4 separate regions of the Homo sapiens genome follow, and all the other regions are linked to region 4. Evidence: promoter capture Hi-C in 16 types of primary human blood cells and fetal thymus (Javierre and others, 2016). All regions are on one chromosome and are shown on one strand. The core of a region is centred on a gene start or on the middle of the fragment in contact, and the rest is flanking DNA. Distances in the headings are between cores, read along the strand shown.

Region 1 (3,451 bases), core at 95-2,594, 420 kb before region 4:
TCACATAAGGGCTGGGCACATGACACTCAGTCTGTTCTTGGGAAGAAACAGCTTTCTCTCCCAGCAAGGGGATCAGGCCTCTGTTCTTCAGAGTAGAAAGGATATTATAAAATAAGAATAAAAGTGTAAACTCTCTTGGCTTAGTCTCAGGTCTCCAAACAATCTATGAGTTTCTGGTTCTTGCCACAGAAGACTTGCTCACTATAATTCAGCCACTACAGAAGACCAAGTCTCAACAAACACTCTGGGAAGCAGATTAAGAACACTGTCCTTATTTTACAGATGAAGAGAACTTAGTTTAGGAAGCTTAAGCAACTTGCTCAATAATAATATACACAATATTTGCAAATATTTATTGAGTACTTCCTATATGCCAGGCATGGTGCTAAGAGTGACTATACCATGAACCCACAGCAACCCTAGGCAATAAGAATTACTATTGCACCCACTTTTCAGATTAAAAAAAAAAAATGAGGCCAGGCGCGGTGGCTCACACCTGTAATCTCAGCACTTTGGGAGCCGAGGTGGGCGGATCACAAGGTCAGGAGATCGAGACCATCCTGGCTAACACACTGAAACCCCAACTCTACTAAAAATACAAAGAATTAGCCAGGCGTGGTGGCAGGCGCCTGTAGTCCCAGCTACTCAGGAGGCTGAGGCAGGAGAATGGCGTGAACCCGGGAGGCGGAGCTTGCAGTGAGCCAAGACTGGGCCACTGCACTCCAGCCTGGGCGACAGAGCGAGACCCCTTCTCAAAAAAAAAAAAAAAAAAAAATGAGGCTCGGGGAAATTAAATAACTTAGTCAAGATCATATAGAAAGCTAGTGATGAAACTAGGATTCAGTACTAGCCTGTGTGTTTAGTCTAAGCTATCCTGTCCATCCAGTTGAATGTGCAAACAACCATGCCTCATTCTTTTAACAGTCCCAACACTGGGGGCCAAGCCTCACGCTGATACAGGGCAAGCTCAGGTTTCTGACACCCACCTTAGTCCCACTGCCAGCATGGGCTCCAGCAGCTCCTTGATATCCTGCTGGATGCCTGGCCCCATTGCTCGAGCCAGCATGCTGATGCAAGTGAAGACTGTGGCATCCACCTGCATTGCCTTCTGCCTCCTGTAGAGAAATGGAGAGTGGCTAGTTGAGACATAATGACATTCTTTAATGTCCCACCTCAAAATCACCTTGGGGCAAGGAGAGCAGGTTACTCAGGCAGGGCTACCACAGATGGGTATGCAAATTGTCCAGAGCACAGTTCAAAGGGACCCATCACATCACAATTACTGTAGATTTGTACATTTCTACAACAATCCAGCAGATGGCAGTAAAGTGTCTTAAGGAAGGGGCCTTTTTTCTGAATTCACACAGCTATACCATATGGGTTATTGTGGTGCTCACCAAGATAATTATGTAGGAAGAGAGCTGAACAATGTGTTCATCAGGGACAAGAAGGCAGTACACAGCCATCATATGGAAAGAAATTCTTCTATGATGAGAATGCTGGGCTTTAGAATGGGGCCAGGCGCAGCGACTCACGCCTGTAATCCCAGCACTCTGGGAGGCGGAGGTGGGTGGATCACCTGAGGTCAGGAGTTCGAGACCAGCCTGGCCAACATGGTGAAACCCCGCCTCTACTAAAAATACAAAAATTAGCTGGGCGTGCTGGCACACGCCTGTAGTCCCAGCTACTTGGGAGGCTAAGGTGGGTGGATCACTTGAGGCCAGGAGTTCGAGACCAGCCCGGCCAAAATGGTGAAAACCTGTGTCTACAAAAAAATACAATTATTAGCTTGGCATAGTGGCACATGCCTGTAATCCCAGCTACTCAGGAGGCTGAGGCAGGAGAATCGCTTGAACCTGAGAGGAGGAGGTTGCAGTGACCCAAGACCGTGCCACTGCACTCCGGCCTGGGCAACCAAAGTAAGACTCCATCTCAAAAAAAAAAAAAAAAAAAAAAAAAGAATGAGTGGGGCGTATTAATTCACCACAGCAATCTTCGCTAATAAACAGGGAAGTATAAAGACAACCTGAGACAAAGGATGATGAACACTGACCCCCTCGCCTTAGCGAAGACACCCCAGTCTCTCCATCTGGCAGGATGCTGAGGGGTTTTCTCATATTTTATTCGCCAGGAGGTTTAAAGAGGTGGAATAACTTATTCAACTTCAGCGATGAGGAAAAAGATGACCCTTAGGTCCCTTCAGTTCCAGTCAAGGATTCCTCTCTTTAGGTCTTATATCAAAATAAGACTTTTAAAAGCCAGAGAAAAAAGCAAAACTAGCAGATTCCCAGTAAATAATAACACTGAAAATAGCATTGGCATCTCACATGTTCTCAGGGTATTCAACCTCCCCAAATATTTCATATATGTTATTTCATTTGGAAAAGCTTAGAATTCAACTAAGGAAGGGCTGTTCTTCATATGATTTGCTATACCCTGGAGTTTAATGATGCAAAAAATGGGCGTAAGCTCCGTGGATCTGAAATAGAGCGTCCTTCCTCTCCAACCAAATGGAGTGGAAGGTGAAATCATAACAGAGGTGCTTACTTATGGGCGAAGTCCTTTGGGGGCAGGGCCGCTCGGATGATGTCCAGCACGCGAGGCAAATAGACCTTAAACTCAGACCTCACAGCCACAGAAAGTAGCCCCAGGGCTTGGAAGGCCGCTGTACGTTCCTTCTCCTTCTTGACACAGCTTAGGACATGGTTCATGGTATCTTGGAGATACTGGGTATCTGAGCACAGAAAAGACAAAGTAGATAGCTCCAGGTCAGGGTTAGGGTCTACATATCAACAGTCAAAGGTCCTATAAAGCAATTCAGTTTAAGAATAAATTAAGAAAGTGGCCAGGCACAGTGGCTCACACCTGTAATCCCAACACTTTGGGAGGCCAAGGAGAGAGGAGTGTTTGAGGCCAGGAGTTCGAAACAGCCTGGGCAACACAGTGAGACCCTGTCTCTACAAAAATAAAAATTAGCCAGGTGTGGTGGTGCATGCCTGTAATCCCAGCTACTCGGGAGGCTGAGGCAGGAGGATCACTTGAGCCCAGATGGTTGAGGCTGCAGAAAGGTGTGATCGTGTGCAGCACTGCACTCAAGCCTGAGTGACAAAGAGCCTGTCTCAAAAAAAAAAAAAAACCCAAAAAACGTAAAAGGTTGCCAAAACAATATCACAGAATTGTCTCCATTACTGTTACATTTTCACACAAGAATTACATGCTCTTGCTGAAGAAATATATGTCAAACCTTGTTTAAAAACAGAAGATCATCTAAACAATTTTACATTATAATGAAATTTGAAGTACAGTCATGGGCCGGGTGCAGTGTCTCACACATGTAATCCCAGCACTTTGGGAGGCTGAGGAACATCACTTGAGTCCAGGAGTTTGAGGCCGCACTGAGCCAAGAGCCATGCACTCCAGCCTGGGCAACAGAATAAGACCCTGTCTCAGA
Region 2 (3,620 bases), core at 685-3,184, 380 kb before region 4:
TCAGCCACCAGAGTAATTCTGTTAAAATATAGGGCAGCCCTGTCAGTCCTGCTTAGAACTCTTCAGTGGCTCCCATCTTGCTCAGAGTAAAGGCCAGGGTCTTTACAGTGACTCCCTAGGGCCCTACATTCTTTGCCCACCTTTTGCCCTCCCCCCAGTTCTCTGACCCACCCTCCTCCTTTCTTCCTGCTCATCCTGGGCCAGCCACACTGCCCTTTCTAGTCCAGGAGCATGCACAACCCCTCCTGCCCCTCCCTCAGGTCCTTTGTAGATGCAGCTTCCTCTGTTTGAAATGCTTTTCCTGCTTCTAACCATGTGGTTCACTTTCTCACTTCCTTCACCTATTTGCCCAAATGTCAGCTGCTCAGTGAGGCCTTGCTTTCTACCTTGCTTAAAATTACACACCCACTCCGTGCCCCCACCTGATACTTCCCCTGCTGCTCTTCTCTGCATTAGTTTTCCTCATAGCACATGTTACCTTCTAATGTGCCATATAAAGTACTTAATTGGTTAATTATCTTCCCCCTTCGACTGCGAGCTCCCTCCCTGCAGTCAGGGATTTCTGTCTCTGGTATTAGCTGAACCCCTAGCACCCAGAGCACTGCCTGGCATGTAATATTACTTAGTAAATATCCAGTGAACAAATGGGAAGGCATTGAAATATACTGAGCAGAGTAGTGACATAATCTGGTTTAAGATTTTTTAAACATTGTCTTTTATTGACATATAATTGACACACAGTGAAATGCACAGGTTTTTAGTGTTGCAGCTTGATGAATTTTGATAAATGTATACAGTTGCATAACCCACACCCCGTCATCATCCAGAACACTTCCATCACCCCCAAAAGCTTCCCAGTGCTTCTTGCCTGTCAATCCCACACTCCCTGCCCCCATCCAGAGACAGGAAAAGAACCACTGTTCTGATTCCTCTCACAGAGATTAGTTTTGCCTGTCATATAAATGGAACCTTTCACTATGAACTATGTATGTATGTATGTATGTGTATTTATTTCAGTCTGAGCTCTCGTCTGGCTTCTTTTGCTCAGCGTGATGTTTTTGAGATTCATTGTTTTATTGCGTGTATCAGTAGTTCCTTTTTTTGCTGACTAGCATTCCATTGTAACATACCACAACTTCTTTTTATCCATTCTCCTTTTCAGGGACATTTGGATTGCTTCCATATTTTGGCTATTACGTCTGAACATTCATGTTCAAGTCTTTTTGTGGATATTTGTTTTCATTTTTCTTGGGTAAATGCCCAGGAGTAGAATTGCTGGGTCACAGGGCAGATGATGTTTAATTTTATGAGAAACTGCCAAACTGTTTTCTGAAGTGGTTGTACTTCTTTACACTCCCCCCAGCAAGTGTTCCAGTTGCTCTGCGTCTTGCCAACTTTTTGACTTAAGTCTTAACAGATTCATTCTGGCTGCCGTGTGGAGAACCGGCCCAGTATTTCACTGTGTAAGCTCATTCAGAAAATGGGGTTGGGAGAGGAGGAATGCCTAAAAGGAAATTCCCAGATGGGCCACGTCTCTGAATCAGGTAGAGCACATGAAGCCTTGGGCCATGTATCAAATGCTAGGAAACAGCTTTCTCCCCAAGGGCTCTACTGTTTTCTTGTGTCAGATAACCAGATCTTTTTCCTCCCCAGAGTGGGTTGCTCTTGGTTTTGGGGTGGGGACAGAGATCTCTGCTCAACCTTGCTTACATCACTTTTTTTTTTTTTTTTTTTCAAAAGACAGAGTTTAGCTCTTGTTGACCAGGCTGGAGTACAATGGTGCGACCTCTGCTCACTGCAACCTCTGCCTCCTGGTTCAAGCGATTCTCCTGCCTCAGCCTCCCGAGTAGCTGGGATTACAGGCGTGCACCACCATGCCCGGCTAATTTTTTTTTGTATTTTTAGTAGAGATGGGGTTTCTCCGTGTTGGTCAGGCTGGTCTTGACTTCCTGACCTCAGTTGATCCACCCGCTGTGGCCTCCCAAAGTGCTGGAATTACAGCGTGAGCCACTGTGCCTGGCCTTTTTTTTTCTTGAGACGGAGTTTTGCTCTTGTTGCCCAGGCTGGAGTGCAATGGCACGATCTCGGCTCACCACATCCTCTGCCTCCAGGGTTCAAGCGGTTCTTCTGCCTCAGCCTCCCGAGTAGCTGGGATTACAGACATGCGCCACTACACCCGGCTAATTTTTTGTATTTTTAGTGGAGATGGGGTTTCTCCATGTTGGTCAGGCTGGTCTCGAACCCCTGACCTCAGGTGATCCACCTGCTTCAGCCTCCCAAAGTGCTGGGATTACAGGCGTGAGCCACCATACCTGGCCGCTTACATTGCTTTTTGCCGAGTGATCTAAGGAGGTGTTCTTGGAGACTCCAGCCAAAGGTCAAGGCTGTAGTGCTGTTGCATTTTCTTTCACAGCCAGACCAGTGGCGTCACTTGGGGAGCTGAGAAAACAAGCACAGCAAGAGTGGGCAGCTGTAGAGGAACTGGCTAGGTCTGTGCTGGGAGTATTCCTGCCCAGCATCATCTTTGCGTGGGTGTAGTCCCTTAAATGTGTGAGATATTGGAAGAGACGTCAATTTACTAATTCTGAACTGGAGCTCGTGCTCTGCTTGAGGGAACTTCCTCCTGGAGGGCATGTCCTCATACAACCAAATTATTTATGAAAACATGGCTTGGTATAAAAATTATCCAAATAGAAGGAAAAAAAATATGGCTTGAGGGTGCAGAATTAGCTTGCTGAATGTTGAAGAGTGTCAGTGGCCATGCCTTAATGCCCTTCCCTGGAGATACTTTGTTCTGAAGAACTAAGGGTGTGTATTTAGCACCAAGGGACCCCAGCTGCTGATGTGAAGGTGAACTTGGACTGGATCTTGTTCCTTAGCTCCTGTCATTTTATTTCATTTTGATTCCTGTGGCTAGTGGGAACTTCTGTCATTTTAGACTGGTTAAAATGCCTAACCAGAGCTTTATTTTCTGATCTTGAGTCCACATCTTGTAGCTTGGTTAGAACTGGAGTTTGCTAAGCTTCTGTAGCAATAATTGCATGGGTCACCTCCCTCAGTGGGCAGCTCCACTCATTCCATACTGCTTTACCTGTTTCAGTCTGAGTGGGAGATCTTTCCTGACCTTGATCCCAAATTCCAGGTGCTTGTTACTGTAGCTCTGTCTTCAGTTCAGCCCTTGTGCCAAGTATTGGGGAGTGAGCTGTGACCAAGCCAGACACATGTCCTGCCCTCATGGAACTTACAGTTTAGTGAGAAAGGTGGAGATTAATTAGAAGCATGATGAAGTTTATGAACATGGCAGGCATATTGCCATGGGAGCATATTGCAAGGGGATCAAATGTGGCTTAGGGGTGAGAGGAGGTGGTCCTGGGGAATGGTCTTTAAAGTCTTAAAGGGTGAGTAGAGTTAGCCAGGCCAAGGGAGGGGTGTCTGAAGGCTCTGACGGATTGGAAGAAGTCTGTGTGAAGAGGGGAGGAGAGCTCAAGGTGAGGCAGGAGAGGTAGGGCTGGGCCACAGGTGAGCCAGGTTAAAGATCTGGGACTTTTATCCCCAGGATGAGTGGTTGATAAGGGTTTAAGTGTATGTTGGGGGAGGGGGTGGTCAGATTCCTTTATTTA
Region 3 (3,308 bases), core at 732-3,231, 260 kb after region 4:
TGTCTGTCTTCCTCCCAACCAGAATTTAAGCAAGCACCATGAGAACAGGAACTCTGGTTCCCATCTGCACCCCCCCATGCATAGAACAGCCCTGGCAGAAGCATTCAATAGATACTTGCTGAATGAACTCAACTCTCTGAGCAACCAAACACAAAGGTTCAGACAATTGGAACCCTGGAAACCAAAACCCCTCTCTCATCCAGAACAGGATTTTCTTTTCTTTAACAGTCAACGAGAGGAGAGTTTTCATCGGGCGGGAGCATCTCAACCTGCTAAAAGGGATTCTCCAACCTCCCTGTGAACCAGTTGCAGCCACAACTGCCAGGACGCACCTCAGCCTAGCAGGGGTTATGTCAAGAAGCCCACGTCTGTCACCAGGCCGACTGCGGTGCTGAGCAAAGAATCAGGGGATCCACCTGCTGGTTTCACCTCTGCAAACTGACTCTAAAACACTTCACTCTGCTCACATCAGGCCCCATCTACCAAAACAAGTAACAGAAAGAATTGACCTTTACACTCAATTGTCCACTACAGTCTCATAAAAACCTTCTGAGGTAGGCGTTATTGTTATTAAATACAGGCCCAGAGAGATTAGGCGACGAATCCAAAGGTCGCACAGACACTAAGCAGTTGAGCAGATTCAACCACTGGTGAAACGCCAAGCCCAAGTTTCAACCACCCCACCATCACCTTCAGTGTCACCTCTGCAGACTTGGGAGGGACATATCTAGGGTGGACCAAGCGCTGGCCAGGACTCACCTGGGCTGAAGAGCTGAGCCCAGAGGAGCTGGTGGTCTTGAAGCAGCTCCGCCGCTGGCATGTCCAAGAGCTCCAGCATTTCCTTCCGTGCCAAGTCCTGCAGCGCCTTGAGCTCCTTGGCTGCTTTGCTTTTGAGCACCTGGGGGTTAATGGGGCCAGAGACGTGCACCACCCACAGCACCGTCTCATCCAGCTGCGTCTTGGGAGCCACTTGGAGGCGGTTCACCAGCTTCTTGGCGGCCACCACCACCAGGTGCACCAACCCAGTGGGCGTAGGCGGGGACCGGCCTGAGTAGAGGAGGAACTGATGGTCTCCGACCTTCTCCAGGGTACTGGTGAAGGCCTTGGGGGCTGGGCCGGCAGTGGGCCCCACAGTCTGCAGCGCGGCCACGCGCTCCGTGGGGTTGTTGAGCTGGATGCGCTGCAGGTAGACGTGGGGTCGGCCCCTGTGCGCCAGAAAGTCCTCTTGCAGCAGCACGCAGTCGCGGCCGGACCCCGCGGCAAGGCCAGAGACGGAGGCGGGCCCGGGGCCGGCGGCCACGGGGCCAGGACCTGGGGACCCCAGCTGCAGGCAACGCACGCGGCGCAGAAGCCCCTCCCGCAGCAGCAGCACCGCCTCTCCAGCTTCAGCCAGCGCGCTCAGCGGGCGCAGCTGCACGAAGGGCACAAAGTCCGGCGCCACGGCGGGCTCCCGCTCCCCGGGAGTCACCCACAGCCGATTGGCAGCCACGTCCAGGGCCAGGAAGCCGTTGGCCACCAGGGCCGGCACTCCAGGACCCAGCGGTACCACCTCACCGCGCTCCCGCAGGCCGCGCCAGGCGCGGGTGGCCGCCTCCAGGCAGGCAGACGGCTCGGCGGCGCCCGGCTCACCGCGGGACCAGGGCAGCAGGTGCAGGCCGCCCGCCGCCCGCCGCGCGCCGGACCCCCCAAACCACAGAAGCAGCAGCAGGAGGCCAAGCAGGCAGAGGAGGCGGCGGGCCCAGCTGCTCGACAGCAGTCCCGGCAGCCCCTTGAGCCGCTGCTGCAGCCACATCGGGCCGCCAGGCGCGGGCAAGGGTGCGAGGGCGGCCGCCGGGCCCGCCGCCCAGCCCACCGGCCCGGCCGCCCGCGCCTCACTGCCCGGCCCGGACCGCGGCGCCCACCCCGGCCCCCGCCGCAACCGCCGCAGCAGCCGCCACCCCTGCTTCCTCCTTCTTCTCGGTGGCCTCCAGCCGTCAAACGACGCCGGCGGTCAAGCGTCGCCGTGTCTTTTACGACAGATGGAAAACGGGAGGGCGGAGGGAGGAGAGAGAGCAGGCCGGAGAGAAGGGGGCGGAGCCACGGCGAGGGCGGGACAAAAGCTGCCGGGGGCGGGACCACTCGTTCCCAGGCCGGAAGAGTGAAGTCCAGTGGAGTTAAGTGCAGGGGTCTGGGGAGGACTGGAAGCATCCAATTCACTCGTGAAAAAAACATCGAGCCAGCCAAACCGAACACGTGTTGGGCCCCTTTGCTACTGATGGATTCAACAGCCCCAAAATTTAAAAACATACACACACACACACACAACAACTTTGTTTCTGTAAAAATGACCATCCTCTCGCCGCGCGCGGTGGCTCACGCCTGTAATCCCAGCACTTTGGGAGGCCAAGGCGGGCGGATCACGAGGTCAGCAGTTTGAGACCAGCCTGACCAACATGGTGAAACCCCATCTCTACTAAAAATACAAAAACTAGCCGGGCGTGGTGGCGCATGCCTGTAATCCCTGCTCCTCAGGAGGCTGAGGTAGGAGAACTGCTTGAACCCGTGAGGCGGAGGTTGCAGGCTTGCAGTGAGCCGAGATCACGCCACTGCACTCCAGCCTGGGCGACAGAGTGAGACTCTGTCTCAAAAAAAAAAAAAAAAAAAAAGACTATCCTCACTGCAAAAAAACACTTGGAACAATACGAAAAAGTGGAGGAAAAAAAAAGGAGAGAGAAGAAGAGGAAGAAAGAAGAAGAAAGGAAAAGGGAGGAGGAGGGGAAGGGGAACCACCAGAGGCCAGGAGTGGTGGCTCACGTCTGTAATTCCAGCACTTTAGGAGGCTGAGATGGGCAAATCACTTGAGGTCAGGAGTTCGAAACCAGCCTGACCAACATGGTGAAAACCTGTCTCTACTAAAAATACAAAAATTAGGCTGGGCACGGTGGCTCACGCCTGTAATCCCAGCATTTTGGGAGGCCGAGGCCGCCAGATCACGAGATCAGGAGATCGAGACCATCCTGGCTAACACGGTGAAACCCTGTCTCTACTAAAAATATAAAAAATTAGCCAGGCGTGGTGGCAGGCGCCTGTAGTCCCAGCTACTCGGGAGGCTGAGGCAGGAGAATGGCGTGAACCCGGGAGGCGGTGCTTGCAGTGAGCCAAGATCGCGCCACTGCACTCCAGCCTGGGTGACAGAGGGAGACTCTGTCTCAAAAAAAAAAAAATAAATAAATAAAAATAAAAAAATAAAAATGCAAAAATTAGCTGGGCGTGGTGGTGGGCGCCTGTAATCCCAGCTACTTGAGAGACTGAGGCACGAGAATCGCTTG
Region 4 (3,360 bases), core at 173-2,672:
TATGGGAGCGGTTTTCCCCCATGCTGTTCTCATGATAGTGAGTGAGTTCTCACGAGATCTGATGGTTTTACAAGTGACGGTTTCCCCGGCTCCCTCCTGCCGCCATGTGAAGAAGGTCGTTGCTTCCCCTTCACCTTCCACCACCATGATTGTAAGTTCCTTTTTTCTTTTCTTTTCTTTTTTTTTTTTTTTTTTTTGAGATGGAGTCTCGCTCTGTCGCCCAGGCTGGAGTGCAGTGGCGCAATCTCAGCTCACTGCAAGCTCTGCCTCCCAGGTTCGCGCCATTCACCTGCCTCAGCCTCTGGAGTAGCTGAGACTACAGGCGCCCACCACCATGCCCGGCTAATTTTGTTTGTATTTTTAGTAGAGATGGAGTTTCACCATGTTGGCCAGGGTGGTCTCAATCTCCTGACCTCGTGATCCACCCACCTCGACCTCCCAAAGTGCTGAGATTACAGGCGTGAGCCACCGCGCCCAGCGATTGTTTCTTGAGGCTTCCCCAGCCATATGGAACTATAAGTCAATTAAACCTCTTTCCTTTTATAAATCACCCAGTCTCGGGTATTTCTTTATAGCAGTGTGAACATGGACTATAATCCAGTGCTCAATAAGTACTCCTCACATTTAGCTATCTCAGTCAAGGGTGAGCTAGATAAGGGCTTTGGCCAGGGCAGGATCACCACCCACCAGCCCATGGCAAACTGCAAAAGGACGGCCTTCCACGGAGAACATGTAGCCCTGACTGCAATTAATGTGTCCTGGGCCAGTCCCCTTGTGCAGTACACAGCCTGCACAACCCTTGGTGGTTGCCTGAACAAGGTGCTTGCTAAATATTTGTTGACTGATGGAAGAAATTCATGAACTTAATCCTGATAAAAAACCTCAGAGGTTTTTTATTTTTTGAGACAAGGTCTGGCTCTGTCGCCCAGGCTGCAGTGCAGTGGTACAGTCTCCACTCACTGCAGCCTCCCAGGTTCAAGCGATTCTCCCACCTCAGCCTCCGGAGGAGCTGGGATTATAGACCTGTGCCACCACGCCCGGCTAATTTTTGTATATTTAGTAGAGACAGGGTTTTTGCCATGTTGGCCAGGCTGGTCTCGAACTCCTGACCTCAAGCGATCCTCCCCACCTCGGCCTCCCAAAGTGCTGGGATCACAGGCGTTAGCCACCTCCTAGCACCTCAGGTTTTTTACCTTTGAGTCTATGAAGCCTGCGGAGGTCACGCCCTAGGGAAAGAAGGAGCCCACTGGGTGTCAGGTCCTGCCTCTAGGGAGGGGACCGCGGGTCAAGGGTGGAGCCCTGGGCCGCATAAGGAAGGAACTAGTGCGGAGGTCCGGGGAGCGGCCGCGCGTTCGGGAGCTTCGGCCCTGCGTAGGAGGCGGGTGCAGGTGTGGGTGCTGAGCCGCCCGCCGCCTGGAGGGGGAGACAGCTTCAGGACACGCAGGCCGCAGCGAGGGCCCGGGCCCTGGGGATCCCAGGTTCGTCTTCCCGCGGCGAGGGTTAGGGGCCGGGCCGAGAGGGACGGCAGCGGGGTCCGGGGCGGGGGTGGGGACCGAGCGCAGCGCGTGACGCGGCGGCGGGGCCCAGCGACAACGAAGCCGAGGCCGTAGGCTCGGGCCGACCTGGAGCTCCGCCGCTGCGCCCAGGTCGCGTCCCCGGGGGGACGGGCGGCGGGCGAGTGGGGAGCCGGGGTCTCCGGCGCCTGGGCGTTCACGGAGCCTGCGGGCGCTGGTCCGGGCGGCCAGGGGTGGGGGGCGCGGGCGGCTGGGCCCGGACTTCGACTGGGGGCCTGGCCCCGGGGCCACCCAGGCGGAGGCTCTGCGGCCGCCTCCACCCCGGCCACATCCCGAGGCCGGCGCCGGGTTCGGAGAACTGTCAAGGGACCTCCAGGCCCCCACACGCCTGCGAGATCCGGCGCTTGCCTTGCCCCAGCCACAGTTTCTGTTTCCGAGAAACCGGTGAAGTAACAATGCCACTAGAGCTTGCTGGGAGGGTGGGTGCGGAGAAGGCGAGCACGAGACGCCGGGCCGGGCAGTTGGGGACCCCGATCGGTGTGAGAGGGCTTCCTAGGGCTGGCATGGACTTCCCCACCACAAAATGCCCAGGGCCGGGGGGGGGAAGGGGCGCAAGAAAATGCGGACTGGGCCAGAGACCAGACTTCGGTCACCACGGTGGGAAGCTATTGGTGCCTAGATGCCTCTAGCTTGGAGCCCAGTGACTTTTATTTCGTCTAGAGTCTAGACAGTGCCTTTAGAAGCTGCCAGCATTTATTTATTTATTTATTTATGGCAGAGTCTTGCTCTGTCACCCAGGCTGGAGTGCAGTGGCATGATCACGGCTCACTGCAGCCTCGACTTCCTGGGCTCAAGCGTTCCTCCTGCCTCAGCCTCCTGCATAGCTGGGACTACAGGCACGGGCCACCAGGCCTAGCTAATTTCTTTTTTTTTTTTTTTTTTTTTTTTTTTGAGACGGAGTGTCGCTCTGTCGCCCAGGCTGGAGTGCAGTGGCGCGATCTCAGCTCACTGCAAGCTCCGCCTCCCGGGTTCAGGCCGTCCTCCTGCCTCAGCCTCCCGAGTAGCTGGGACTACAGGCACCTGCTTCTCGAGTAGCTGGGACTACAGGCACCTGCAACCAAGCCCGGCTAATTTTTTGTATTTTTAGTAGAGATGGAGTTTCACTGTGTTAGCCAGGACGGTCTCGATCTCCTAACCTCGTGATCCGCCCACCTCGGCCTCCCAAAGTGCTGGGATTACAGGCGTGAGCCACCGCGCCCGGCCTTTTTTTTTTTTTTTTTTTTTTTTGAGACAGATTCTCACTCTGTTGCCCAGGCTGGAGTGCAGTGGCACGATCTCGGCTCACTGCAACCTCCGCTTCCCGGGTTCAGGTGATTCTCCTGCCTCACCCTCCCGAGTAGCTGGGACTACAGGCGTCCGCCACCACGCCCAGCTAATTTTTGTATTTTTAGTAGAGACGGGGTTTCGCCATATTGGCCAGGCTGGTCTCGAACTCCTGATCTTGTGATCCGCCCGCCTCGGCCTACCGAAGTGCTGGGAATACAGGCCTGAGTCTGTGCACCCGACCTAATTTCTTTTTTTCTAGAGACAGAGTCTCACTATGTTGCCTAGACTACAAGCATTTTTAATTGACAACTTTTACATTTTTTTTCAAATGCTTACAGTTGCTTCTCAGAACTTAGAAGACTTGGCCACATTGGGTTTTTTTGTTATTTTTTTTTTCCATCAAAGCATTTTTCTTTTCTCTTTTTTTTTTTTTTTTTTTTTGAGACAGTTTTGCTCTGTTGCCCAGGCTGGAGTGCCATGGAGCAATCATGGCTCACTCTGCTCCAGCAGGCTCCTTCTT

What was found. Contacts are between HindIII fragments. The CHiCAGO score rates a contact against its expected background, and 5 or more counts as called.
Region 1: a contact is called between a fragment that was not itself captured here and the fragment with the promoter of FBXO6 in region 4, in 5 of 17 cell types (non-activated CD4 T cells, naive CD4 T cells, fetal thymus and 2 more). The highest score is 7.8, in non-activated CD4 T cells.
Region 2: a contact is called between a fragment that was not itself captured here and the fragment with the promoter of FBXO6 in region 4, in 2 of 17 cell types (M2 macrophages and endothelial precursors). The highest score is 7.2, in M2 macrophages.
Region 3: a contact is called between the fragment with the promoter of KIAA2013 here and the fragment with the promoter of FBXO6 in region 4, in 1 of 17 cell types (neutrophils). The highest score is 8.4, in neutrophils.

Annotation. Positions count from the first base shown.
Region 1 is chr1:11,240,567-11,244,017 of GRCh38, forward strand. MTOR (mechanistic target of rapamycin kinase) reads right to left here. Exons shown (of 58, transcript NM_004958.4): 9 at 2,548-2,734; 10 at 987-1,115. Among named protein-coding and RNA genes, the nearest start is that of MTOR, 20 kb to the right of the region's middle. RefSeq lists an enhancer at 982-1,541. The HindIII fragment of the contact is 2,081 bases long and covers 305-2,385 here.
Region 2 is chr1:11,280,844-11,284,463 of GRCh38, forward strand. The region is part of intron 1 of UBIAD1 (UbiA prenyltransferase domain containing 1); the gene reads left to right. Among named protein-coding and RNA genes, the nearest start is that of UBIAD1, 9.5 kb to the left of the region's middle. The HindIII fragment of the contact is 2,172 bases long and covers 849-3,020 here.
Region 3 is chr1:11,924,446-11,927,753 of GRCh38, forward strand. It overlaps KIAA2013, which reads right to left and starts at 1,982. Exons shown (of 3, transcript NM_138346.3): 1 at 760-1,982. The coding sequence starts at 1,792. RefSeq lists enhancers at 926-1,588, 1,589-2,252, 1,907-2,201 and a silencer at 1,837-1,906. The HindIII fragment of the contact is 9,969 bases long and covers 1-3,308 here.
Region 4 is chr1:11,662,778-11,666,137 of GRCh38, forward strand. FBXO6 (F-box protein 6) reads left to right here and starts at 1,423. Exons shown (of 6, transcript NM_018438.6): 1 at 1,423-1,478. It overlaps FBXO44 (F-box protein 44), which reads left to right. Exons shown (of 6, transcript NM_033182.7): 6 at 1-550. RefSeq lists silencers at 1,489-1,708, 1,759-1,828 and an enhancer at 1,949-1,998. The HindIII fragment of the contact is 5,022 bases long and covers 1-3,360 here.